Regions from separate parts of the Homo sapiens genome. Here all the other regions are linked to region 3. Evidence: promoter capture Hi-C in 16 types of primary human blood cells and fetal thymus (Javierre and others, 2016). All regions are on one chromosome and are shown on one strand. Each heading gives the region's core, a stretch centred on a gene start or on the middle of the fragment in contact. The rest is flanking DNA. Distances are from core to core; before and after follow the strand shown. Region 1 overlaps NISCH (nischarin). Region 2 overlaps POC1A (POC1 centriolar protein A). Region 3 holds the start of GLYCTK (glycerate kinase). Region 4 holds the start of LOC124906238 (a long non-coding RNA gene).

The links. Contacts are between HindIII fragments. The CHiCAGO score rates a contact against its expected background, and 5 or more counts as called.
Region 1: a fragment that was not itself captured here is called in contact with the fragment with the promoter of GLYCTK in region 3 in 2 of 17 cell types (M2 macrophages and erythroblasts); the score reaches 6.2 in M2 macrophages.
Region 2: a contact is called between a fragment that was not itself captured here and the fragment with the promoter of GLYCTK in region 3, in 2 of 17 cell types (M2 macrophages and non-activated CD4 T cells). The highest score is 6.3, in M2 macrophages.
Region 4: a contact is called between a fragment that was not itself captured here and the fragment with the promoter of GLYCTK in region 3, in 7 of 17 cell types (activated CD4 T cells, total CD4 T cells, non-activated CD4 T cells and 4 more). The highest score is 7.2, in activated CD4 T cells.

What each region holds. Positions count from the first base shown.
Region 1 is chr3:52,468,222-52,473,908 of GRCh38, forward strand. It overlaps NISCH (nischarin), which reads left to right. Exons shown (of 21, transcript NM_007184.4): 4 at 2,638-2,686; 5 at 3,593-3,756; 6 at 4,082-4,177; 7 at 5,513-5,608. Among named protein-coding and RNA genes, the nearest start is that of NISCH, 15 kb to the left of the region's middle. RefSeq lists an enhancer at 3,013-3,513. The HindIII fragment of the contact is 3,132 bases long and covers 2,480-5,611 here.
Region 2 is chr3:52,147,828-52,153,963 of GRCh38, forward strand. It overlaps POC1A (POC1 centriolar protein A), which reads right to left. Exons shown (of 11, transcript NM_015426.5): 2 at 3,189-3,273; 3 at 1,989-2,160; 4 at 1,383-1,562. Among named protein-coding and RNA genes, the nearest start is that of POC1A, 3.5 kb to the right of the region's middle. RefSeq lists an enhancer at 5,989-6,136. The HindIII fragment of the contact is 1,584 bases long and covers 1,266-2,849 here.
Region 3 is chr3:52,284,985-52,290,722 of GRCh38, forward strand. It overlaps GLYCTK (glycerate kinase), which reads left to right and starts at 2,844. Exons shown (of 5, transcript NM_145262.4): 1 at 2,844-2,892; 2 at 5,320-5,735. The coding sequence starts at 5,359. GLYCTK-AS1 (GLYCTK antisense RNA 1) reads right to left here and starts at 4,749. Exons shown (of 1, transcript NR_046719.1): 1 at 3,596-4,749. LOC107986086 (a long non-coding RNA gene) reads right to left here and starts at 3,036. Exons shown (of 3, transcript XR_001740699.2): 1 at 2,849-3,036. RefSeq lists enhancers at 2,429-3,170, 2,476-3,675, 2,502-2,611, 5,415-5,738. The HindIII fragment of the contact is 11,873 bases long and covers 1-5,738 here.
Region 4 is chr3:52,042,803-52,048,858 of GRCh38, forward strand. LOC124906238 (a long non-coding RNA gene) reads left to right here and starts at 3,427. Exons shown (of 2, transcript XR_007095908.1): 1 at 3,427-4,520; 2 at 5,017-6,056. RefSeq lists an enhancer at 3,518-4,717. The HindIII fragment of the contact is 4,073 bases long and covers 2,285-6,056 here.

The DNA of each region.
Region 1 (5,687 bases), core at 2,796-5,295, 180 kb after region 3:
GCACTCCAGCCTGGGAGACAGAGCGAGACCCCGTCTCAAAAAAAAGAAGTGTGCCGTTGAAAATGAGGTTTGTTCAGTACTGATCGTGGGGAACCCTTTCTCCTGAGATAACTGTAAGAGCCTTGTGTCCTGAGAGGCCCTGGAGCTATTCTTGGGGAATTGAGGTGGGCAGAGATTGGCAGCCCCTGGGACCTGCTTGGCTCCAGGCGATCTGACAGCAGGGAGGATTGCGAAGTACAGATCTGTAGACGGGGCGTGGTTTTCAAAACCATCCGTGGAGGCTCTTCCTAATCTTCAGTTCTTCACAGCTGCCAAGGAAAATGTCATTTAGCTTATGTGGTTGCAAGAGACTGAAGTTGAACTTCAGAGCACACCCACCACCTCTGCCCTCACTTCCAGCCGGAGCCCTGTCCTGCTCTGTGCCTGCCGTGCCCCTCTCCTTGCCCTTTTCCATTCGGCCCTGCACCCTGCCGGTCCCTTAAAGCTGTGGCTCTGTGTGCTCATTTTGCTCCCTTTGCTTTTTGTCCACGGGATACAGGGAGGAGTTATTCTCGTGCTGTATATAAACTGAATTTCAAGCAGATTAAATGAATAAACACATTTTTTAAAGAACCAAAAGAAAATTAAGAGAATATTTTTATAATTGTGGAGTGAGAGAAGAGGCCCAAGAAGTCATGAAGGATAAAAAAAAATTAGAGGTTAAACAATGTAAAAATGAAAAACCTCTGTCAGAAAAAGCACCATGAACAAAGGTAAAAGGTATATGCAGACTGGGAGGAAATGTTTACAACATATAAACCACCATTAAAATGGCCACAGTGTATAAAAGATAAGAAAGAGACAAACAACCCAAGAGAAAAACAGGAAAAGGACACCCTGTCTCCTGTGTCTTTAGAATCCCATAAACACGTGAATTGCTTGTCCTGGTGGAAGCGATGTTCCCAATGTTCCTGTGAGTTATGAGGATTATGCAGCCTCCATCTGGAGCTGTTTACGAAAAGGCCTGTTGGCTGCCATCTGTCGATGAGTTAAAATTCCTACCTGTGGGATGTGGGGGTGGGGGGCTGAGGGCCTTGGGGGCACTGCCAACCCCACAGTTATTACACTGAACTGCTGAGGCAACGGGTTTCATATGCAGAGGCCCAAGGCCAAGGGCTTGAGTGTGGCTTTGCTGGTTTTTAGCCATGTAAAATTGAGGGTGTCGGCGCTTGTCCACCTCAGGTTGTTCATTTGTGAAACGGAGCTCAAGATAGAAGCTTCCGTTGCTGGGTGCAGTGGTTCACACCTGCAATCCCAACAACTTGGGAGGCCGAGGTGGGGGGATCTCTTGAGGCCAGAAGTTCAAGACCACCCTGGGCAACATAGTGAGACCCTGTCTCTACAAAATATTTTCTTAAAAATTAGTTGGTTGGCTAGGGGCAGTGGCTCATGCCTGTAATCCTGGCACTTTGGGTGGCTGAGGCAGGGTGGATAACTTGAGGACAGGAGTTTGAGATCAGCCTGGCCAACATGGTGAAACCCTGTCTCTACTAAAAATGCAGGAATTAGCTGGGCATCTTGGCACATGCCTGTACTACCAACTACTTGGGAGGCTGAGGCAGGAGAATCTCTTGAACCTGGGAGGCAGAGGTGGCGGTGAGCCGAGATTACACCACTGCACTCTAGCCTGGGCAACAGAGCAAGACTCCGTCTCAAAAAAGAAAAAAAAAAAAAAAAGCAGGTTGTGCTGATGCACACCTATAGTCCCAGCTACTTGGGAGGTTGAGGCAGGAGGATTACTTGGGCCCAGGAGTTCCAAGCTGCAGTGAGCTATGGTCATACCATTGCACTCCAGCCTGAGTGACAGAGCAAGACCCTGTCTCTATTTAAAAAAAAAAAAAAAAAAAGCAGTTATCGCTTTTCCTCTTGTAGGATGTTGGGAGGATTCAGGAGCCTTCAGTGGCTCAGGGCATGACCCAGTATGAATTAGGATCCAAGCGTGTTGTTTGTATGACTGGGGGCTTGGCCTTGTCCTGCCCTTCATCACATCATTTAAAAAGGAAATCCTTCCCGCTTCTTTCTTGGGACCCTGGGGCTGAGTGTTACTGTTGTGAATCTGGAAGGGATGAACACAAGAAGAAAACAAGTGTTCACTCTTTTCCTGAGACACATTTGAAACGTGAGAGGAAGTGGAAATGGTCATTCCCAGGGAGGGTTAGCTCTGGGTGGTCCTTCATCCCACCAGGGTGATAAGAGCCTCTCTTCCAGAAAAAACAGGACTTTTCTCTCTGCCACACCCTCTCCTAGGAACACCCAGAGCCAGTTTTGGGAGCTGCTGGCTTCCCAAAAGCCCTTAGAGTAATGCAGCTCTGCTGGCCTCCTGGGCTACAGTGCCCTTGGCCCTATGGACTGGAGTCGCAGCATTAGGCTGATTTCCCTTCTGCTTTGGAGGAGACATTTCAGGTATCCACATAACTAGAATACTTAGTTTCCCTTTCTAAGCTTCTTGCTTCATTGTAGGTTTATGCCCTCCTTTCTTTAGTTTAACTTCCTAGAGAGATGGCACTGGCACAACAGAGGGGATAGATAGCGGGGAATGTGACCCCAGGGACTGGGGTCAGGTGGACTTTCTAAGGGCAAATTTTGTGTTCTCTGCAGGAGATAAATGGCATCACCGCGGCACTGGCTGAAGAGCTCTTTGAGAAAGGTATGTGGCCACATGTCCCTGAAATACTGAGCATAAGTTGTGTAGTTTTATGAGGCGGCCAGAGGCACAGGATGGCATAGAAGTCACTCTGGAGCCCACCTACCTCCCCTGTAGGTGGCCAGGTCTGAGGAGCTGTGGTCCTTCAGTACTCTTGAGTACCATGTCAGGGGCTCAGCCCAGACTTGGGCTGTGTTCCAAAGCGCTGTGGTGGGTGCTGGAAGGTGGGTAGCACACTGCTCCCTCGCACCTGGTTTGTGCTTACCTGAAAGGGCTCAGATGGCAGATAGAAGCTGACCCTGGGTCCCATCCCTGCCAGAGAGCACAGTTATAGTAGCTCATGTGTGATGAATGCTTCCTGTTTGCATCTTACTGCCTTCCCCCAGGAGCCACAGGTATAGGGAAGGATACGGGGTCAGCGGCCCAGTCACCAGCCTGAGGGCACATGGCTGGGAGGAGTGGAGCGAGGACCAAGCAGCAGTCAGTTGGGCTCAGAACCCATCCTGCTTCCAGGCTCTGCACCACGCTGGCACCATAGGCCTGCGCCTGACCTGGGTGTTTGCATTTCGGAGGTTGCAGCATAGGTGTGTCACCCAGAATGCTGTCCCTCTCCGCAGCCTCACTCTGGCCCAGTGCCTTTGGTCTCGACTCGGCCTCACTCCTCCCTCAGTGGCTCCCCAGCCTCACAGCCCCACAGCCCTGCCCTCCTCTGTCATCACATGTCTAGGGTTGCCCTGTGCCTAGCAGGCACCCAGGAGGGCAGCAGCTCCTGCATGCCCAGGGCGCTGGCTTTGCCCTGACACAGTGGGTGCTTGCCAACTGCTTGTTGACAGAAAAGGTGGAAATCCTGGCTGCACGAGGGCTGGGGCTGCGGCTGGACACTTATCCTTCAGGGCATGGCTCTTGCAGGAGAACAGCTCCTGGGGGCCGGCGAGGTCTTTGCCATTGGACCCCTGCAGCTGTATGCCGTCACGGAGCAGCTGCAGCAGGGAAAGCCCACGTGCGCCAGTGGGGATGCCAAGACCGACCTCGGGCACATCCTGGACTTCACCTGTCGCCTTAAGTACCTTAAGGTAAAGCTGCAGCAGCTCAGTCATGGAGAGCCCCGCAGTCGGTGGGGGTGCAACCTGCGGGGGACTGGCTGGCAGTTTGTGTGAAGGAGACCATGGGGGACTGTTGGTGGAAGGAAGGCCGCCCGGTTATTCTTGGCACTATGCTTCTGGCTGTGGGCACCAGGGGGCGGTCGTGACCCAGTGTCCCGTTAAATTAAGTCCTGGCCTGAGCCTGCTTTGTTGAAGACAGAAGTGGTCAAAGTTGTCTTCAACTTGTCAGCTGCTGCAGCACTCCCCGATGGGCATGCGACACTGTTCCCAATTTAAGCCTTATCTTTGGCTTCAGGTTTCTGGCACAGAAGGACCTTTTGGGACCAGCAACATTCAGGAGCAGCTCCTGCCGTTCGACCTATCAATATTCAAGTCCCTGCATCAGGTGGAGGTAAGGCCCAGCGCTGCACAGCATCCTCTCGCTCCCAACTCAGAGGCTAGAGAGTGTTTGTGATGTTGGGTGTCCTAATTTAATCATAAGGTGCTGTGCTTTCGTGTTTGGCAGTATGTGACAGGTTCTGCGTAGGTGACCAGGCCCTCTGAAGGCGGAGAAAGAGAGGCCTCTCCTGTCCCTGGCTGGTCTGCACACACCTTCCCTGGCGTGAGCTGCAGGGGCGGTTAGCCAGGGTGGAGCACCAGCACCTGGCTCATTCTAGGACTCCTCATAGGGGCAGGGGGCATGTGTACCTCAAGTTCAAGTCCTGGGAAGTCATCCTGGGGGTCAGACAGAACTAAATACAAGTCTGTATTTCCCAAGGCCGATTGGCAAAGAGCTTTGAAGATGCCCTGCCCTCTGGGGCACCCACACAAGAAACACTCTGCATCTGTCACTACTGGACTCTTTGGTTTGCGATGCCAATTTTAGCATTTTTGAAAAGAAAAGTCAGTAATGAATACAAAAAAAGTTTTAAAGCATAATTTTTTGAGCATGGCTTTTGTGTTCTGCCCTGTGGCCCCATGTCTCCTTGATTGAATCTTCCCAACAGCCCCGTGAAGAGGGCACTTTTATTTCCATTTTACAGTTGGGGAAACTGAGGCTTGGGCAGATAAGGAAGTTTGGCCAGGGCCACACAGTTAATGAGCGGAAACCTGGGATTTGAATTCAGCTGAGACTGCCTCCAGAGCCTCTGCTGTGCACTGGGCTGTTCCGTCTACAGTGGTCTAGGGAAACTTGTGGTGTGCCCTGCTGCCGATTGAGGACAGGGAAGTGAAGGGGAAACCCGACCCAGCCCTGCCAAGCAGGCTGAGGCTCTGGATCTGGGTCTTGGGTGTGCTTGGGCAGGTGGCTTGGGGAGTGTGCTTTGACCTGTGGCCTGCCCCTCCTCACCACAAGACAGCTCAGTTCCATGGAGTGGGGGCTGGGTGAACAGGAGGATCCACCCCACTCGCTGTGCTGTGGAGGCCCCTTGTTCTCCCCAGCAGTTTCCATGACCCACACTTTATGTTCACCTGCCAAGCCCCAGGCAGCCCTTACAGAGGAAATGGAATTTGTGGTCCATTGTGAGTCTGAGGGGCCAGGCACCTTTCTTACTAGATACTTCAGGGAATGTTTGGTCGGCACTGACACTGGGAAAAAGAGACACTTTGGTCTTGAGTGGCCTCCCATCTCTGAGGATTTGGGTTGCCTGTCATTGTGCTTTTGTATGGGGGTAGGAAACACCTGCATCTGGGGACTTCTGACGGAGCAAGGATTCTGTTTCTGAGATGCAGCTGTTCTTTGTTCCAGATAAGTCACTGTGATGCTAAGCACATCAGAGGGCTGGTCGCATCGAAGCCCACCTTAGCCACGCTGAGTGTCCGCTTCTCAGCAACCTCGATGAAGGTAAGCTTCACCTATATCCTGCCTGGGGCAATGTCTGTGGATCAGGGTCCTGGGCTGTGGTCTCCACCACTAAGGATGG
Region 2 (6,136 bases), core at 808-3,307, 140 kb before region 3:
CTCTTGTTTTCGTTTTCTTACGTAGCTTCATGAGCAAATAGCCCCTCTCCCATCCCAACAGCAAACTCTGACCAAAAGGGAAAAAGAGAAATTCTTCCTGACTTAGAGGAAAACCAAACATAAATAAACAAAAAGAAAAGAAAAAAAAAAAGGTGCCTGCCTCACGAGTGAGCACAGAGCAGCCTCATGCACATAAAGCCCCAGCACTGCCCCTGACGCACAGCACATGGCAACATGCAGCCGACTGCCTGCCGGCAACATTTGCATAAAGGTGGCCAAAAGCTCACCATCAGTGTCATTACTCTGGGACCAGGTCCTCCGAGTCTACATTTGACTCAAGTGCGGGTCAGCAAGACACAATCTGCCAACAAAAGGCATGAGGTCCTGGGGACTGCCACCAAAGGCCCAGTATGGACTTGACACCCCAGTTTGCTGGCCTGGCCCCTCCTGATCTCAGGACCCTAGTCATAAAGCCTCTAAGAGCCATCAGGGGTCTCCCAGGACAAAGGAATGGGGGTGCCCTGGAGAACAGTAACTTGTATGGGGTCCCCAGAAGAACACAGCTCAATAGTCCCCAACTTCTGACTCATGTGGTTTCCTAATGTCACCTGGCACCCCAACCCCTTCCTCTGAAGCAAAGATATTTGACCCATGGGGAAGCTCTGTTGAAAGGAATGAAATAAGCTAGAAGTAGGACTATCTGTCTGCAATTCTTGGACCTTGAAAGGTCCTTTGGGTTACCTGGCCCGCTGTCTGCACAGCACTGGCTCCCTGGCCAGCAGGAAGGCTAGCCTCCAGGCTAAGCCCCCCATCTCCGAAGCCTGCGCCCCCATCTGGGAGCTCTGGAGCAAAATCATCCCCTGAGAACATCCCAGAGGAAAGTAGGCAAGCCTTACTGTCAGAGAGAGTTGGGTTCAAACTCCAGCTCTGCCACAGACCCACCGTGTGCTCTGGGACAAGATACTACTGTTCTGAGCCCCCATTTCCTCATCTGCAAAATGGAAATGCACCTAGCTTGCAGAACTGTCTTAAGGAACAAAAAGAAAATGTGTAATGGTAGTACTGAAAGTACCTAATTGTTTTTGATAATAAATGGCCCCTGTTGACCCAGTTTGTGCTTTGCCAACACAGATGTCAGAGGGTCATCATGGCTGACTATGGACTAACTTACATGTCATGCATCAGCTCCATGAAGCTTCTCGACAACTTACAATGCAGGAGCTATTATTGTTCCATTTTACAGATAAGGAAACCGAGGCTGAGGAAGCTTAAACAATGCCTAAGTAACTTGCCCGAGGTCATAAGTTGGTACCTAGCAGCCCCTGGGCCAGCCCCCAACCCCCAGGGTTCCTCCAAGGGTCTCCAGACAGAACAATGCTCACTTGGCACAGCGGACCCAGTTGATATGCTGGCTCAGGGAGAACAGGAATTTCTGGCGATGAGTTGCCCACACTTTGACTGTCTTGTCGTCAGAGGCTGTCACGAAGGACTGGCCATCACTGCAGAAGTGGACACTCCTCACTGTGGCTGTGTGTGCACGAAACACAGTGGACTCACCTTTGCTACAAGGACAGGCATCCAAGAGTAAGGAAACCCATAACAGTGACATGAGAGCCCACAAGCACATCAAAGCTCTCCTACTCCTCAAGCACCCCTCCCAAAGTCAGTCAAGCCCGAGTACCCCAGTCTCCACAAGGGAAAGCCAGAGCCTCTCCTATATGAACAGAGCACCATCTCTAGGCCCCACCCACATGAACACAGCATCAGGTGGCATTTCTTTAGGGATAGATTGGGTAAGCCCAGAACTCCTCTTCCAACCCTGAGGGGAGGGCTCCAACTGCAGCCCCAGCCTCTGATGGCACCTCTTCCAAAGCAGAGTAGAAGTCCCACTGTGACCAGTCCAGAGCCAAGCTAGGGGACCTGGGTGGGGATGGCTCTGGCACCAGGGCCCCAGACTCCAACAAGCCTCCTCAAAGTGTACGACTCACACATTGGGTACCCAGATGCGGACAGTCTTGTCTCGGGAGCCGGAAGCAAGCAGGTGTCCCGAAGGAGAGAAGTTCACACAGGTGACGGCATCCTTGTGGCCAGTGAAGCGGTAGGCGCGTGACTGCGGCTTCATGTGCCAGACCATGAGGCATGAGTCCATGGAGCCACTGGCTGAGGACAGTGGGTGATGCTATGACCTACAGCTCTAACAGGCTTCAAGCCTCCACCAAGACATTGGAGAGGCAGGGGGAGCAACTGGCCCAGCTCCATCTTCCCTGGCATCCACAAACAGACCGTGAGAAGTCTCCCATGGAGCAGAGCACATCTCGAGGTATGGTCTGGAGGTGGAGAGCCTGTGGCCCAGAGTTCTCCAAGGAGCACACCCACATGGGAATAAGACCGAGGCCCTTCCCATGCTAGCCTTGGACTGCAATCCAGAGCTCTGGGAAAACTCATTCCCATGGGGCCCAGGGTCTCCCCCCAGACACATCCTGAGGGCACCAGAGAGCAAGTCCTCCCCAGCTGGGAAGCCAGCCCCTCCCATTGAGAGGGCCCAACTCAGTATGAAGCCTAAAGGAGGTCCCCAAAACTGATCAAAAATCACTTCAGTTCCCTCTTAACCTTTACACATCAGAGGGTCTTGATGACAGGATGAAGGGGCAAGCCTCCTCTGCAGGAACCAGAAAGCGCAGTCATAAAAGCTGTGTACGAAACCTCATGCAACCAAGGAAGGGGGACAGTCAGCTGCAGCATAAGAGCAGTGGGGTCGAGGGGGGTGCCCATCTCTGCTCAACAGCCTTCTCACTGACAAGGCTCTTCAACAAGGTGTGCCTTATTACTGTGGGCAACAGAATCAGTAAAGCTTCAAGGAAAAGGAGTCACTGTTTAGGGCCCACACCAAAAGACAGACCCAAAAGGTGGCTAGGGTGTGCAGAAAAGACCCAGATCCCAGTCCCACCCTCAAAAGCTCTGTGGCCTTAGCAAGGCCCCTAACCTCTCTGACCCTCAGGCTCTGCATGTAAAATGAAGCTCATGAAGCCCAGTGCCCAAAGAGCTGGCAAGCAGAAGCAAGACTAGAAGCAGGTCTAGACAAAGCTGTGCAGTCCTTGTGCTCTGCTTCCCACCCACCACCCCTCCGAGGTAAAAACTTGGCCTGTTCAGCTCATAACCTAGCACCTAGACAGGGTGCCTCTTCTTACCCAGCTGCTTTGTGTTGATACTGAAGTCCACACAGGTAACTGCATCTCGGTGGCCCTTAAAATGCCTTTCCAGCGAGGGGTCCTCCTGAGAGAGAGCCAGGGTCAAATGTGTGAAGCCTGGGTGAGGAAGGGGCTTCCCCAGGGCCAGCACTCTTCCTACAACAGCCGGGGGAGTAGGGTTAAAAATGCTCAAGGCATGATCTTATATAAAGAAAATCCTAAGGAATCCACTTAGGATTAGTTTTTACTAGGAATAGTTTTTACTATTTGAATTAATACATCAACTGTGGAAATGCTTCAACAAAAACAAAAAACAAATGAGTTCAGCAAAGTTGCAAGATACAAAATCAAGACACAAAAATCAATTGTCTTTCTGTACACTAGCAATGAATAATCCAAAAAATAAAACTATTTATGATACATAAAAAAAATAGCAATATTTTAAATTAGCCGGGCATGGTGGCAGGCGCCTATAATCCCAGTTACTCAGGAGGCTGACGCAGGAGAATGGTGTGAACCCAGGAGGCGGAGCTTGCAGTGAGCAGAGATTGTGCCACTGCACTCCAGCCTGGGTGACAGAGCGAGACTCCGTCTCAAAAAAAAAAAAAAAAAAAGGAATAATTTAACAAAAGAAGTGCAGGACTTGTACAGTAAAGACGACAAAACATCACTAAGAGAAATGAAAGAAGACTTAAAAAATGGAAAGACATTCCACATTCATGAACAGGAAGACTTACTATTGTTAAGATACAATACTACGATACTCCTCAGATTGATCTACCGATTCCACATAATTCCTATCAAAATCCCAGGTGTCTTTTTTGCAGAAACTGACAAGCTGCTCCCAAGATTCACATGAAAATGCAAGACACCCAGAAAAAAAAAAAAATCTTTAAAAACAAACAAACAAACGAACAAACAAAAAACACAGATACTATAGAAAGTAATTTGGCAGTTCCTCAAAAAGTTAAACATAGGTCAGGTGAAGTGGCTCACACCTGTAATCCCCACATTTTGGGAGGCTGAGGCAGGAGGATCACTTTAAGCCAGGGGTTCAAGACCAACCTGGGCAACACAGCAAGACCCTGACCCTACAAAAAAATTAAAGAATTAGCCACACGTAGTGGCTCATGCCTGTATTCTCAGCTACTCAGGAGGGTGAGGTGGGAGGACTGCTTGAGCACAGGAGTTCAAGGTTGCAGTGAGCTGTGATCACATCACTGCACTCCAGCCTGGGCAACAGAGCAAGACCCTGACTAAAAAAAAGTAGTTAGCCGGGCACAGTGGCTCACGCCTGTAATCCCAGCACTTTAGGAGGCCAAGGCGGGCAGATTACCTGAGGTCAAGAGTTCAAGATCAGCCTGGCCAACATGGTGAAAACCCCTCTCTACTAAAAATACAAAAATTAGCTAGGCGTGGTGGTGGGCGCCTATAGTCCCAGCTATTTGGGAGGCTAAGGCAGGAGAATCGCTTGAACCCAGGAGGAGGAGGTTGTAGTGAGCCGAGATTGCACCAGTGCACTCCAGCCTGGACGACAGAGTGAGACTCCTAATCAAAAAATAAATAAATAAAATAAATATAAATAAATAAAATAAAAAATAAAGTAGTTAAACGTGGTTAGCAAATGACCCAGCAATTCTAGGTAAATACCCCAAAGAGTTGAAAACATGGTTTACACAAAAACTTGTACACAAATGTTCAGAGCAGCATTTTCCTTAATAGCCAACAAGTGATTGAACCCAAATGATCCATCAACACATGACTGAATAAACCAAATGTAGCATATTCATACAACAGAATATTATTCAGCCATAAAACCGACTGAAGTGCTGATGCTTGCTGCAACATGGATGAACCTTGAAAACATGCTAAGTGAAAGAAGTCAAACACCAAAGGCCACATTTTGTCTGATTCCATTCATATGAAAAGTTCAGAATAGTCAAATCTATAGAGACAGAAAGTATTAATATATTAGTTTGCCAAGGGTTGGGAGAAAATGGGGAAAGAGAAGAAATGGTATGACTGTTATTGAGTATGGAGTTTCTTTTTGGGATGATGAAAATATTCTGGAATTAGTGATTACAGTTGCACAACACTGTGAATGTACTAAAAACTACTGAAATGTACACTTTAAAAGGTGAATTCTGTGGTGTATGAATAACTTAATAAAGTTAAAACACCAGAGAGAATACTCCGGAGACTCTCTCCATCCAATAGCAGCTTGTGTCTTAACACTTGAAGGGTTATAATTCAGCCATCCAAACATCTCCCCCTACTCTAAGTATCAGAAACCTCAAAGAAGCATTTTGGGTGCTCCAGGAAGCCCAAAGGCTCCTCCTGGGAAAGGATGTCCTTGGGGCACAGCAAAGCCACTGCCACCCTACAGAGCAGTAACCAGAACAAAGGCCCTATGGCCTTGTGCCCAGCTCCACCCCTAACGCACCTGTCAGAGTCTCCTTTCAACAACAGAGGGAGGAGCAGCTGGGGGAGGGTCCCCAACAGAGCCTTCTGCTCTCACCTAAGCTTCTTGAAAGAACATGCGTAAGAGAGTGTCCGCCCCTAGGCTCAGTGGGCAGAGGCAAGTTCAGGTCCACCCCTGACCAGTAGGTCCCATGGTATCTCTCAACACCGCCTCCCCTCTGTAGTTCCCTGCATGTGGGCCTCATCTCCCTCAACAGTGGTTTATACATGAGGGGACAGGAAGGGAGGTAGAGTACCAGATTAGGAGTCAAAAGGTCTGTATCCTAGCCTGGAATCTCCGTCCATGTCCTCAAGTGCCTCAGGGCATCACAGGCTACCACCCAGCCTCCCTGACTCTCCAATCAGCCAGAGGGCCTTGCCCGTTCAAAGGAATCTCTCGAAATGAGGACTTCTGGAGGAATGTGAACTCAGAGAGGGCGGCTCCGCCCCGCTCACACTGCAGGCCCGGGCATCCCAGCGTCCTGCTG
Region 3 (5,738 bases), core at 1,594-4,093:
GAGGATCACTTGAGCCTCGGAGGTGGAGGTTGCAATAATCCAAGATGATGGCACTGAACTCCAACCTGGGTGACAGAGTGAGATCCTGTCTCAAATAAAAATATATGTATATATAAGAAAAAGAAAAATCCAGGGAGAGAGCTGGAAGTGGGGGCCAGAGGAAGGGAAAGGTTCATGACAAGAGCACAGCATGGTTTGGAGACCTAAGGAGAGATGTAGCAACTGCCAAAGGGAGCAGGTAGGGGGTGTGAAAAGAAAATAAAATTTTAGGACATTCCCAATTTATAATGTGAAGGAGAAAAGTGAAGCCCTGGAAACTGAGCAGGCATTGCTTTTTTTTTTTCTTCTCTGATGCATGACTGCTGCTTCCTGATCTTTGTATTGAAATGTTATACATTAACCAGGCTCCCTATTCTTCATTCAGACTTAGACTAGATGATGTGGGAGATAGAGACCCTTGTGATTGTTGTCTCTTTACAATAGAATGTTAAGCAAACTCCTTCCAGTATAATCAATAGTAGCCAACCAAATCTTGTATTTATGTTAGCCTTTTTTTGGAAAATGTTGTAATTCTGGTCAGCACTCCTGTTTTTGCCTATATAAACAATCTTTTTTTTTTTTTTTTTTGAGACGGAGTCTCGCTTTGTCACCCAGGCTGGAGGGCAGTCACGCAATCTCGGTTCACTGCAACCTCCCAGGTTCAAGCAATCCTCCTGCCTCAGCCCCACCAGTAGCTGGGATTACAGGCACACACCACCATGCCTAGCTAATTTTTGTATTTTTAGTAGAGACGGGGTTTCGCCATGTTGGCCAGGCTGGTCTTGAACTCCTGACCTCAGGTGATCCACCTGCCTCAGCCTCCCAAAGTGCTAGGATTACAGGTGTGAGCCACTGTGCCCGGCCCATGCCCAGCTAATTTTTGTATTTTTTAGTAGAGATGGGGTTTCACCATATTGGTTAGGCCAGTCTCGAACTCCTGACCTCAAATGATCCCACCTGCCTCAGCCTCCCAAAGTACTGGGATTGCAGGCATGAGCCACTGCACCTGTCCCAAAAACACATTTCTAATGTCAACCTAAAAATCATCAAAAGGTTCGATATCCAGTTAAAAGAATTTATTCAAGCATAAAGTGTGAGGGCAGCCATCCAGGGAAACACAGACACCAAGCAGTGGCAATTAGTGTTCTCCAGCATGGGGAAAGATGAAGGTTGTTTATATAGGCCGGGCGCCTGTAATTGTTTATACGCCTGTAATCCCTGCACTTTGGGAGGCCAAGGGCGGTGGATCACAAGGTCAGGAGTTCGAGACCAGCCTGGCCAACATGGTGAAACTCTGTCTCTACTAAAAATACAAAAATTAGCTGGACGTGGTGGCGGGCGCCTGTAGTCCCAGCTATTCGGGAGGCTGAGGCAGGAGAATTGCTTGAACCTGGGAGGCGGAGGTTGCAGTGAGCCGACATCGTGCCCAGGCTGCAGTGCAGTGGCCGTGAGCTGAGACTGTGCCATTGCAGTCCAGCCTGGGTGACAGAGCAAGACTCCACCTCAAAACCAAGAGAAAGAAATGTGTTTTTGTTTGTTGGTTTTTTTTTGAGACAGGGGCCCAGGTTGGAGTGCAGTGGCGTGATCAAGGTTCACTGCAGCCTCTACCTCCCAGGCTCAGGTGATCCTCCCATCTCAGCCTCCTGAGTAGCTGGGACTACAGGAGCATGCCACCACACCTGGCTCTTTTTTTTTTGGTAGAGATAAGTTTCGCCATGTTCCCAGGCTGGTCTCGCATTCCTAGGCTCAAGCGATCCGCCCACCTTGGCCTCCCCAATGTTGGGATTACAGGCGTGAAACACTGCGCCCTGCCAAGAAACATGTTTCAATAAAATTGTTAGGAAATCAAGTGTGTGATTTGTGATGCAACTCTCTCCTCTATCTCCCTAAGAAAACATCAGTAAAAACAGTGAACTGTTTTGTATTTTTGGAGTCTGATCAGGACTCATCTTATGAATGTGGGAAGGCATCCAGCCAACACAGGGTAGGCCCCGGATGAGAGTAGGGACAGCGAGGTAGGCCCAGAGTCATTAGCGTTTACATGCCGCTTATGTGCTTGAGGATCGCAGAATGGAACTCTTGCTAAGCCAGAGCTGTATTTGGTGGCCCATGGTGGGAGAGGGAAGAACAATAATAAGTTGTGGAATAAAAGCCATGGAGAGGAGCGGGAATTACTTAATCTGGCTCCAGAAGGGGTGAGTTGTGGGGAAGTAGTGATTCTCAGTTCGTTTGCTCAGCCCAGTCAGTGCCTGACACTCAGGGTGCATCTGCTGACTGACCGTACAGGATAAAGGAAGGGAGAGGCCGGGTGCGGCGGCTGAAGTCTGTAATCCCATCACTTTCGGAGGCTGAGGTGGGTGGATCGCTTGAGGTTAGGCGTTCGAGACCAGCCTGGGCAACATGGCGAAAGCCCGTCTCTACTAAAAAATACAAAAATTAGCCCGGAGTGGTGGCACATGCCTGTAATCCCAGCTACTCGGGAGGCTGAGGCATGAGAATCGCTTGAATCCGGGAGGCGGAGGTTGCATTGGGCCGAAACCGCGACTCTGCACTCCAGTCTGGGCGACAGAATGAGACCCCGTCTCAAAAAAAAAATCGGCAATCGGTGAGGCGGGGATTATTACCCTCAATGTAGAGATTTAAAAAATGAGGACTGAAGGTGACTCCTTCCAGGTCTGTCAGTGGCCAGCAAAGAGCCAATATGCTAAACTCTCCCCTCCCGGACACCGGCTTCAGCCAGAGCTCGCACCCGCCTGCGCCGCTCCACCCACCCACACTTCCGGCTTCCGCTCCGCCCACCCCCTAGTACTTCCGTTCTCCAGCGCTGGGCACCGCGGCCGGAGCTGTGGGCTGGTAAGTCTGCGCCGCCAGGGCTCGCATGGCCTTCAGAAGCGGTCCCTGGGCTGGGCGATGACGGGTCCTGGTGGCAGCAGGCCCTTCTTTCTCGCATCACCGGGCATTACGCGGCAGCCATTTCCCTCGCTAAGGCCCTACCTTAGGATGACGTCACTTCCGGCCCCCTACTGTCTAGGGAAAGCCGGAAATGGTACCAGCCTTCTTTGATGGCGGGGAGGAGTCAAGACCGGTAGTCTTCCTATTTCCGTTGTTTTGCTCTGGAGCCTCCCGGAGTTTCGGAGAGACCGTGTCTTGGATAGAATTGGAGGACTTAGCAAATAAAAATGCAAAGCGTCCAGTTACATTTTTTTTGAGTTAGAATCTCACTCTGTCACCCAGGCTGGAGTGCAGTGGCGCGATCTCGGCTCACTGCAACCTCCGCCTCCCCTGTTCAAATGATTCTCATGCCTCAGTCTCCCGAGTAGCTGGGATTACGGGCGCCCACCACACCCGGCTAATTTTTGTATTTTTAGAAGAGACGGGGTTTCACCACGTTGGTCAGGCTGGTCTCGAACTCCTGACCTCAGGTGATGCGCCCGCCTCAGCCTTCCAAAGTGCTGGGATTACAGGCGTGAGCCACTGCGCCGGGCCACGTCCAGTTAAATTTGAGTTAAGATAAACGACGAATAATTGTTAAGTCCTAAACATTGTATGCACATACTTATACTTTAAAAATTACTTGTTTATTTGAAATTCAAATTTAACCGGAAGTCCTGTATTTTCTCTGGCAGCCTTAGCATTGAGCGTCCCCCTGTCCTGTGCTCATACCCAGTGGCAAGGCTGGGATCTTCTAGGCTCTTGTCCATCTGGGAAATAGATACAAATTTCATCCAGGCTATAAAGACCGGCTGTCTTAGTTGCTAAGATGCTTTTAGCTCCAAGTCCAATGGGCAAGCTCCAGGGGTCCCCCTGGCCAAAACTGGACCCATTTTCGGAATCCCCATGACGATGCCCTCTGTGTTCCCTTTCACAACAGAAGTCAGGCATGGCTGTCTTTTCTTACCGGAGAGCTGAGAACTAGGCAAGCAAAATGGTCAAAGTCTAGAAGTAACCACCATATTTGGGTGTGGGGTAAACCGGTGTTTGAGATCTGTGTTGCAGTGGACAGTATCAGAGAGCCTGAGGTTGTTAAGGGAAGAGCGTAGTGTTAATCTCACCCCATGTCTCATTTTGCGGATGAGGCCCAGTGAGAGAAATGGAGGTGTCCCAGCCACTCAGAAAGCCTATAGTAGAGCTGGAACCTCAATTCCCAGCCTCCTTACCCTGCTCAGTCCATACTTGCTGATGAAGTCAGCTTGCAACATTTATGGTAGGCATTTATTAAAGTAGATGCAATAGTACATATGTAGTACAGATGAGCTGTTTGGGTCTTTGTTGTTCCTATACCCCTCTACAGCTTCCTGACCTTCGCCCCAAGGCTTCTTTAGCTTTTACTCTGCCCAGTGGGGAAAATGGCTATGGGCTCAGTTATGGGAGCCTGGCCTTTGCCTACTTCAGCCCTTGGGCTCTCACCACTGTGGGTGGTGTGACCTAGGACTTGTTTTTGTTATCTTGGAACCAGAAGGCGTGTTCTTGGCAGGGTTGGGTCTGGCCAACTGTGTGGGTAGAAGGGCATCCTTTTCTGTCCTGCAATTGGGCTTCATGGCACATGGCCTCACATGGTGCCTGGGGACTTTTCTAAGGTTCCACCATGAGCCAGACTTTGCCCTCACTCCTGATTTGAACCTAAACCTCTTGCTGAACTGGTCCTGCATACTGAGATTCCTCAGATTGCTTGCCCTGAGGATGTGTTCTGGGTTTGACCTGATAAACCTGCAGCCTCCTATAGACCCTGACTTCCCAGGCTCCTAATCCCAGTCTCATGAGATAATGAAATAGAGAAGACTGGAGGTCAATGGGCTCAGGGTCAGTTGGTGGGACAATCAACAGCTTCCTGGCAGCAGAGGTGGTAAAGAGGCAAGGAAGGAGTGCCAGAAAGGGGCGTTGCCCCAGGGTAACAGCGCAGAAGTGCAGGGGGTGGAAAAGGGGTGGGATGGGAGCCCACTGGTAGAAATTACTCCCTCTGTCAATGATTAACTCCCAGCCAAAGGGGTGACCTGGGAGGAGGGCCCAGCTAATAGGAACTTTGGACTTGAGGCAGAGTATCCAGAGGGCCGGCATGTGGTCTGCAGAAGAGGAGGACGTGGCTGGGTGGCAGGGCTGGTCTCCAAGGACGAGTAAGATCCTGCAGCTGCAGGCTTCAGGAAGTCTCCTGGGGCTATCAGATGGCTCCTTCTTGTAGCAGCAGCTGTGGGGTCCACTGGCCCTGAGCCCTCAGAGGGGCGGCCGTGGGGGACCTCCTGTCTTTTGCCTTGCAAGGGCCTCAGTTGTGCTTTTTCCCTCTAGGCAGCCATGGGTGCCAGGCAGTGCTGAGAGCAGTGGGGCATGGCTGCAGCCCTGCAGGTCCTGCCCCGCTTGGCCCGAGCCCCCTTGCATCCACTCCTCTGGCGGGGCTCAGTGGCCCGTCTGGCCAGCAGCATGGCCTTGGCAGAGCAGGCCAGGCAGCTGTTTGAGAGTGCTGTAGGTGCAGTGCTGCCGGGCCCCATGCTGCACCGGGCACTATCCTTGGACCCTGGTGGCAGACAGCTGAAGGTGCGGGACCGGAACTTTCAGCTGAGGCAAAACCTCTACCTGGTGGGCTTTGGCAAGGCTGTGCTGGGTATGGCAGCTGCAGCTGAGGAACTACTGGGCCAGCATCTTGTGCAGGGCGTGATCAGCGTTCCCAAGGGGATCCGTGCTGCCATGGAGCGTGCCGGCAAGCAGTA
Region 4 (6,056 bases), core at 3,071-5,570, 240 kb before region 3:
GAGAAGGAGAGAGAGAGAGAGAGAGAGAGAAAGAAAGAAAGAGAAAAAAGAAAAAAAGAAGAAAGAAAGAAAGAAAAGAAAAGAGAAAGAAAAGAAAAGAAGCCAGACACAGTGGCTCATGCCTGTAATCCCAGCACTCTGGGAGGCCGAAGCAGGCGGATCATCTGAGGTCAGGAGTTCAAGACCAGCTTGGCCAACATGGTGAAACCCCATCTCTACTAAAAATACAAAAATTAGCAGGGTGGGTGGTGGGCACCTGTAATTCCAGCTACTCAGGAGGCTGAGGCAGGAGAATTGCTTGAACCTGGGAGGCAGAGGTTGCAGTGAGCCAAGATCACGCCATTGCACTCCAGCCTGGGCAACAAGAGCAAAATTCTGTCAAAAAAAGAAGACAGAAAGAAGAGAAAGAGACAGAGAGAGAAAGAGGGAAGGAAGGGAGGAAGGGAGGGAGAAAGGGAGGGAGGGAGGAAAGAAAAGAAAAGAAAGAAAGAGAAGAGAAAAGAAAAGAAAAGAAAAGAAAAGAAAAGAAAAGAGGGAGCCAATTGAAGGGGGTGGTGGCAGGTGGAGAATATTCCAGGGGGAGGAAATAGCATGCACAAAGGCTGGAAGCAGGAACAGCAAGAGGTTCATCTCCACTAGAAGATGTCCCCTTCTGGGAGATGCCCCCAGACTACCTTACCTGTTGGAACTGGGTGTCCCTGACTCTCTGCCCCTCCAGCCTGTGCACTCCAGGAGGACAGCCCTGACTGGACACTCCCTCCCAAGCCTCCCCAGCTGTTGCCAGCCCTTCTCTTCCATTTCCCCTGCCCCACCCAGGTAACCTACAGGTGCATCGCAGTCCCTTCAGAAAGGGAGCTCCGGGCTCCTTCCCACAACATGCTGCTTTCCTCGGGCTGGCATGGGTGGGAGCCCAGCTGGTGTCAGGGATGGGAGGGGGTCAAAACCCAAAGGTCTCCTGACCTCTCAGGCCTGGGGTAGTTGAGAGCAGGGACTCTCAAGGCAGCCAGACCTGTGCCCAGACCCCAGTGGGGCCCCTTCCTGACACATGGCTTTGCAGTTCTCTGTCTTGGCTTCCTCATCTGTCCATGTGGGATAATCCAGCACCCCCTCCGAGAGCTGCTGGGGAGATTAAGTGAGTTTATCATGTAAAGCCTGCAGGACACCTGGCCCAGCACAAGGGCCATGGCTGTGTGTTATTATTATGGCTCTTACTGCAATTTGAACTGCCAGGTGACCGACTACATCGGAACAGATCCCAGGCAGGGCCAGGCATGAGGGGCAGCCATGGCAGGACCTCACGCCGAGGAATGATTCAGCCCCCAGAGCTGTCCTGGGCCCCTGCCGTGTTCCTGGCACTGCCAACACGTGGCTTCTCTAAATCAGCAACAGTAATAGCTGAACGTAAAAGACAAACAACTCTGCTTTCCTTTCAGAAGCCAGTCTGGAAAAATGGAAGCAGAGGTGTTTGTCCCAGAAATGCCACTTCTGGGCATGAGGCCCAGGGAAAGAATCTGAGATGCAGAAGAACCACACCCAGACTCCCTGCCCAGAGGTGCTGGTGAGACCACCTGAGTCCCAGCAACCGGGGAGGGACAGTGGTATCCAGCCTGCCTCTCTCCCAGCGGCTAGGGAATAGGGCTGCAGGGGCCTGGTGCCAGTGGTCTGGGGAGAAGTGTGAGCTGGGCCTTTGCTCCTGTAGTTCCTCCACCGGGAGCCTCATCCCAAGCCCCCATGCTAGGTTCTGTGGGGTGAGGAGAGAACTAGGTTTGGGGCATGCGAATTGGGGGACCAGAGGCAGGCTCAAAGGGGTGTGGTGCTGAATCTGAGGGCCAGATACCTCAGGGTCATTATTCTATCTCTCATCAGTGGAAACAGGGAATTGGAGAACTGAACGGGGGAGGAGGCTTGTCCGAGATCACACAGCAAATTGACAATAGTTGGGCCGGAGAGGTGCCCCTCAGCAGCGGTGGGGATGCCACAGCTAAATGAACTCACCTGGGCTCCTGTTCCAGAGGTCTAGGTGGGCAACAGGCCCTTCATCCTGCTCTCTCCTCTTGAATTGGCAATTCTTATCCCCACTGTACAGATGAGGAAACGGAGGCTCTGAGATGGGCCGTCAGGGCTGTGCTGTCCTGGGGGACTTCCAGGACGCTTAAGGATCTTGGGGCCCCTTGGCTCTCCCTGGGCGCCTAGCATGTGGTGGCACAATGAGGGTGAGGCAAGCTTCCCTCAGGGGAGGTGAGTGGGGGCTCGGGGTCCCGTGGGCCCACGCATGCCCGGGCTAAGCTTAATCCTTCTGCGAGGCACAGCGGCTGGCTTTCAGGCTGTGGATGTGGCATCAGACAAGCTGGGACCCTCTGTTCACACCATGGGTCTTGATTCCCATGGGGCCCAAGTCCTGCTGGTCTGCAGATGTGTCCTTCCCACACCCTCTCCAGCACTCCTGACCCACCCTCAACTACTGTCCTGGCCTCCTCCCTGTCCCCTGGCCTGCGCGCTTGCCTTTCAGGCCGCTCTCACTCACCAACTAGATCTTCATTGTGACAGCCAGACCCCATCAGCCCTGTGCCTGATGCCCTCTAGGGGCTCCCCTGTCCCCTAAAGAGGCTCCTCCCTGGCCCATGACGCCCTGTGGAAAGGCACTGCAGCTTCTCCTCTGCCTGCAGCCCTGAGGCCAGAGGAGGAGTTGAAGGCATGGAGGGAGGCGTGTGGAGACCCCACACATGCACGGAAGCTACACGGCAGACAATGGCCCCTGGAAGTGTGCGATAGGACAGCCCTGGGAAGGGGGCTGGCTGCCTGGGCAAAGAGAGGTTCTAGCAAGGGGCCGGAGTCTGTGTCACGGTCACCTGTGGGGGCTCATCTGACCCAGCCAGAGACAATGGGGCCAAGGCCTCTAAGAGTTGCTAATGATAGTCTTTAATGACCATGCCTGGAAAGGGATGACTTCACCCAGGACACACCCTGATGAGAGGAGGCTACAGTCACAGGCAGGCGGCTCCTCCATTGCTATGAGACCTGCATGGGCTTGTCTAGTCAGAGGATGGCAAAGCTGTGTGTGTGTGTGTGTGTGTGTGTGTGTGTGTGTGTGTGTGTGTGTGTGTGTGTGTGTGTGTGTGTGTGTCTGGTCCCTCACAGAGCCAGGGCCTAGTGAAAAGCCTCAGGGCAGCAGGGTGGGGGGCCCAGCTTCTACCTTGCCTCACTCTATGACACCCCTCTGCAAACCTCACCTTCCCCATCAGCACAGGGCTGGGAAGCAGAGTGATTCCCGAGCCTTCCCAGGGCTCTCAGGTAGGCTGGGTCTCAGGAGTCAGGTGAGAGCACTGTGTCCTGGTGGGGCCCAAAGAAAGCAGGGGAAAAGATGTCAAGGATCAGGACCTGAACACCCTCCATCGGGGCACCCAGAGGTTAACATGCTACTGTGCTCCCTACAGAGAAAGCTGGCTCCCATATCAGGCCCTCTGGCTTCTGCCAAGGATCTGGGGGTAGGTGTTGGTGTCCCAGACACATCCATTCTGACACAGAGGGAGGTACAGTGCAGTCATGCTGTTGGCCCAGGTGCACAGCACATGGGCAGTAGCAGGGAGGGGCAGGCTCCAGTGCAGGCTTGCCACCTACCCCCACCCTGGTCCATTCATGAGGAATGACTTTCCTCTGGGGAGGGGCCCTGTGGGGGTGGCAGGCAGAGCAGGGCCCTCTCCTGAGGGCTCCCTCTGCCCCCAGGCTCAGAGCGGGACCACCCTAGGGAAATGTTCATCTCTCCTGCGGTCTTGTCGGAACCCCTTCAAGGTCATCGCTCCACAGCACTCCAAGTGCTTCCTCGTATCCAGCCTTAGTCAGTCCTCATGTTGCACTTGATTCATTTATCAGAGGACAAGTTGAGGGCCCCATTATCCTGCCACCCAGTGTGACATCACCGAGCTTCCCTCGGGCATGTTCCCTCCCTGGGACTGCCCAGCCGGCACAGGAAATGGCTGCTGGATGAATGTGCAAGTGAGTAAGTGTCTTGGATCCTCCTCCCATGGGAACACTAAGCGGCTAAGGAGTGGACCAGCTCCCCGGGGTCCAGGCTGAAACGGAGGCAGAAACAGGGACCAAGGAGGCAAACAGGCTCAAGAGAGCAACAGGACTGGGGACAGAGATAAAGCAGGTGCACCCCCAGAGAGCCAAGTGTCCAAGAGCTCAGGACGGCTGCGCTGAGGGCCTCAGCCACAGATGGCCTGAAGCAAGCAGGGCCCGCTGGGGAGAGCATGGCAGAAACGGGGTGGGATAGGAGGAGCTCAGGACACGGGGCCATGAGATGGGAGCCCAAAACCCAGGGGTGGGGGACCACAGTCCAGTAAGCGTGGCCCGGCCCAAGGTCACAGAGCAAGGACCCAGGGCCCCAGCCTCTCAGCCATGACCTGGCCCTCTGTCCCCCAGCAGGGAACCTTAGCCAGGCCCAGTGCTGAGGTAGGAATTTCTACAGGTAAGGAGGACACAGACGGTCAGAGAGACCACTGGCCCCAGAGTGCACAGGGGTAAGTGGCGGGGCTGGCCCTCTTCAGGCAGTCCCAGTCCTCCGTCTGAAGAGCCGGCTCAGGAGGCGGCTGCCACTCCCACCCCCACCCCGTCCTGTGCTTGGGCACGCTGGCACTGCCAGGCACTTACTCGGTTTGTCGAGGGCCCAGCCCCCAGCCCAGCACCCGCGGGCTTCCCCAGGCCTGGGCGAGGGCAGCAGGAGGGAACAAAGGCCCAGTCTCTGCCTGCTCAGGCCCCCACCCCCTTTGCCTGCCCCTGGCACAGAAGGAACAGGGCCCTGAGGGAGCCCAGGAGCAACAGCAGCACCGCCCCCTTGTCGAGGATGCAGCAAGAAGCCCCCTCCTACCCACAGAGGCCTGCCGGCTGAGCGGCAGGATTCTTCCACGCTCCACATGGGAGTGTTAGGGGGTAGAACTGAGGGACTGCAGTCACACAGCTGAGATTTGCACCCAGGCCCCACAGTGGGCAGAACCTGCCCTCTACCCCTCTCCACAGGCTGCGCATGATGGTTGTGACTGCGTTCTGGTGCAGACTAACTGAAGAGCAGAGATGAGGGAGAGAAGAGAAGGAGAGCCTTGGGCACCCCAACAGAGCAAGTCCCAGGCTGAGCCGCCCTCACCCTCTCGGCCCTACCTACCTACCTTCCACCTGGATCCAGCTCAGTGCTGATCACACAGTTTGCTGAAGGGATAGAGCTGGGGAATGTCAGAAATGGGGAAACTGAGTCAGCTTCCAGGCCTCTTAAGTCCTTGACTGGGGCTCACCTGATCCAGCCAGAGGCAAGGGAGACCTAAGCCACTCTGGAGCCTCCATTTCCTGATCTGTAACTCGGGGCTTGTTGTCCACTGGGGCCTCACTTCCCCAGACTGTGGCCCCCATCCTTCTCCAGACCTCCTCCCTGCTCTAGCCCAGGGCCTCGCTTAGACCCCCACCCCCAGGGGAGCCTTGACAGAGGCCCATGCCCACCCTTCCTTGTACACGCCTGAGCACGGCTGATTCCTCCCTGTGAGCCCAGGCCAATAATGTGCTCTTCATGCCACAAAGCTGAAAAGCACTCAGGAACCAGGTGCAATCGGCCTAAGGGACCTGTCCAAGGCCACCCAGCCCTTAAGAAGCAAAGAAGGGCTGACCTGTCACTACCCACTGATATCTCAGGACCTGCAGGGGCAGGGTTAAATGCACATTCCCCTCTCACCCACACGGCAGCAAGAGAAAGAGTTAGGGTCCTGGGGGCTGCAATCTGGGCAATGCCTAAGCAGACAGCCTCAGACAATGAAGGGCGAGTCAGGACTCAGTTGTGTCAACTTGGTATATACAACCTCTCCAAGCCTTGATTTCAGCAGAAGCCCACAGAGAAAGCCCTGATGCCTCTGCCTGCCAGTGCCTAAGGGCTGGGGAAATGCCACCTGCCCCAGCTTCATCCAGAAACTGTGGCTGCTCCCTCCCATCTGCGGGGCACCTTGATTAGTCTAAGTGGCCAGCAGACCCCAAGCAGAACCAGGCCAGTGCCTCACACAGAGCAGGCACTAGGATGC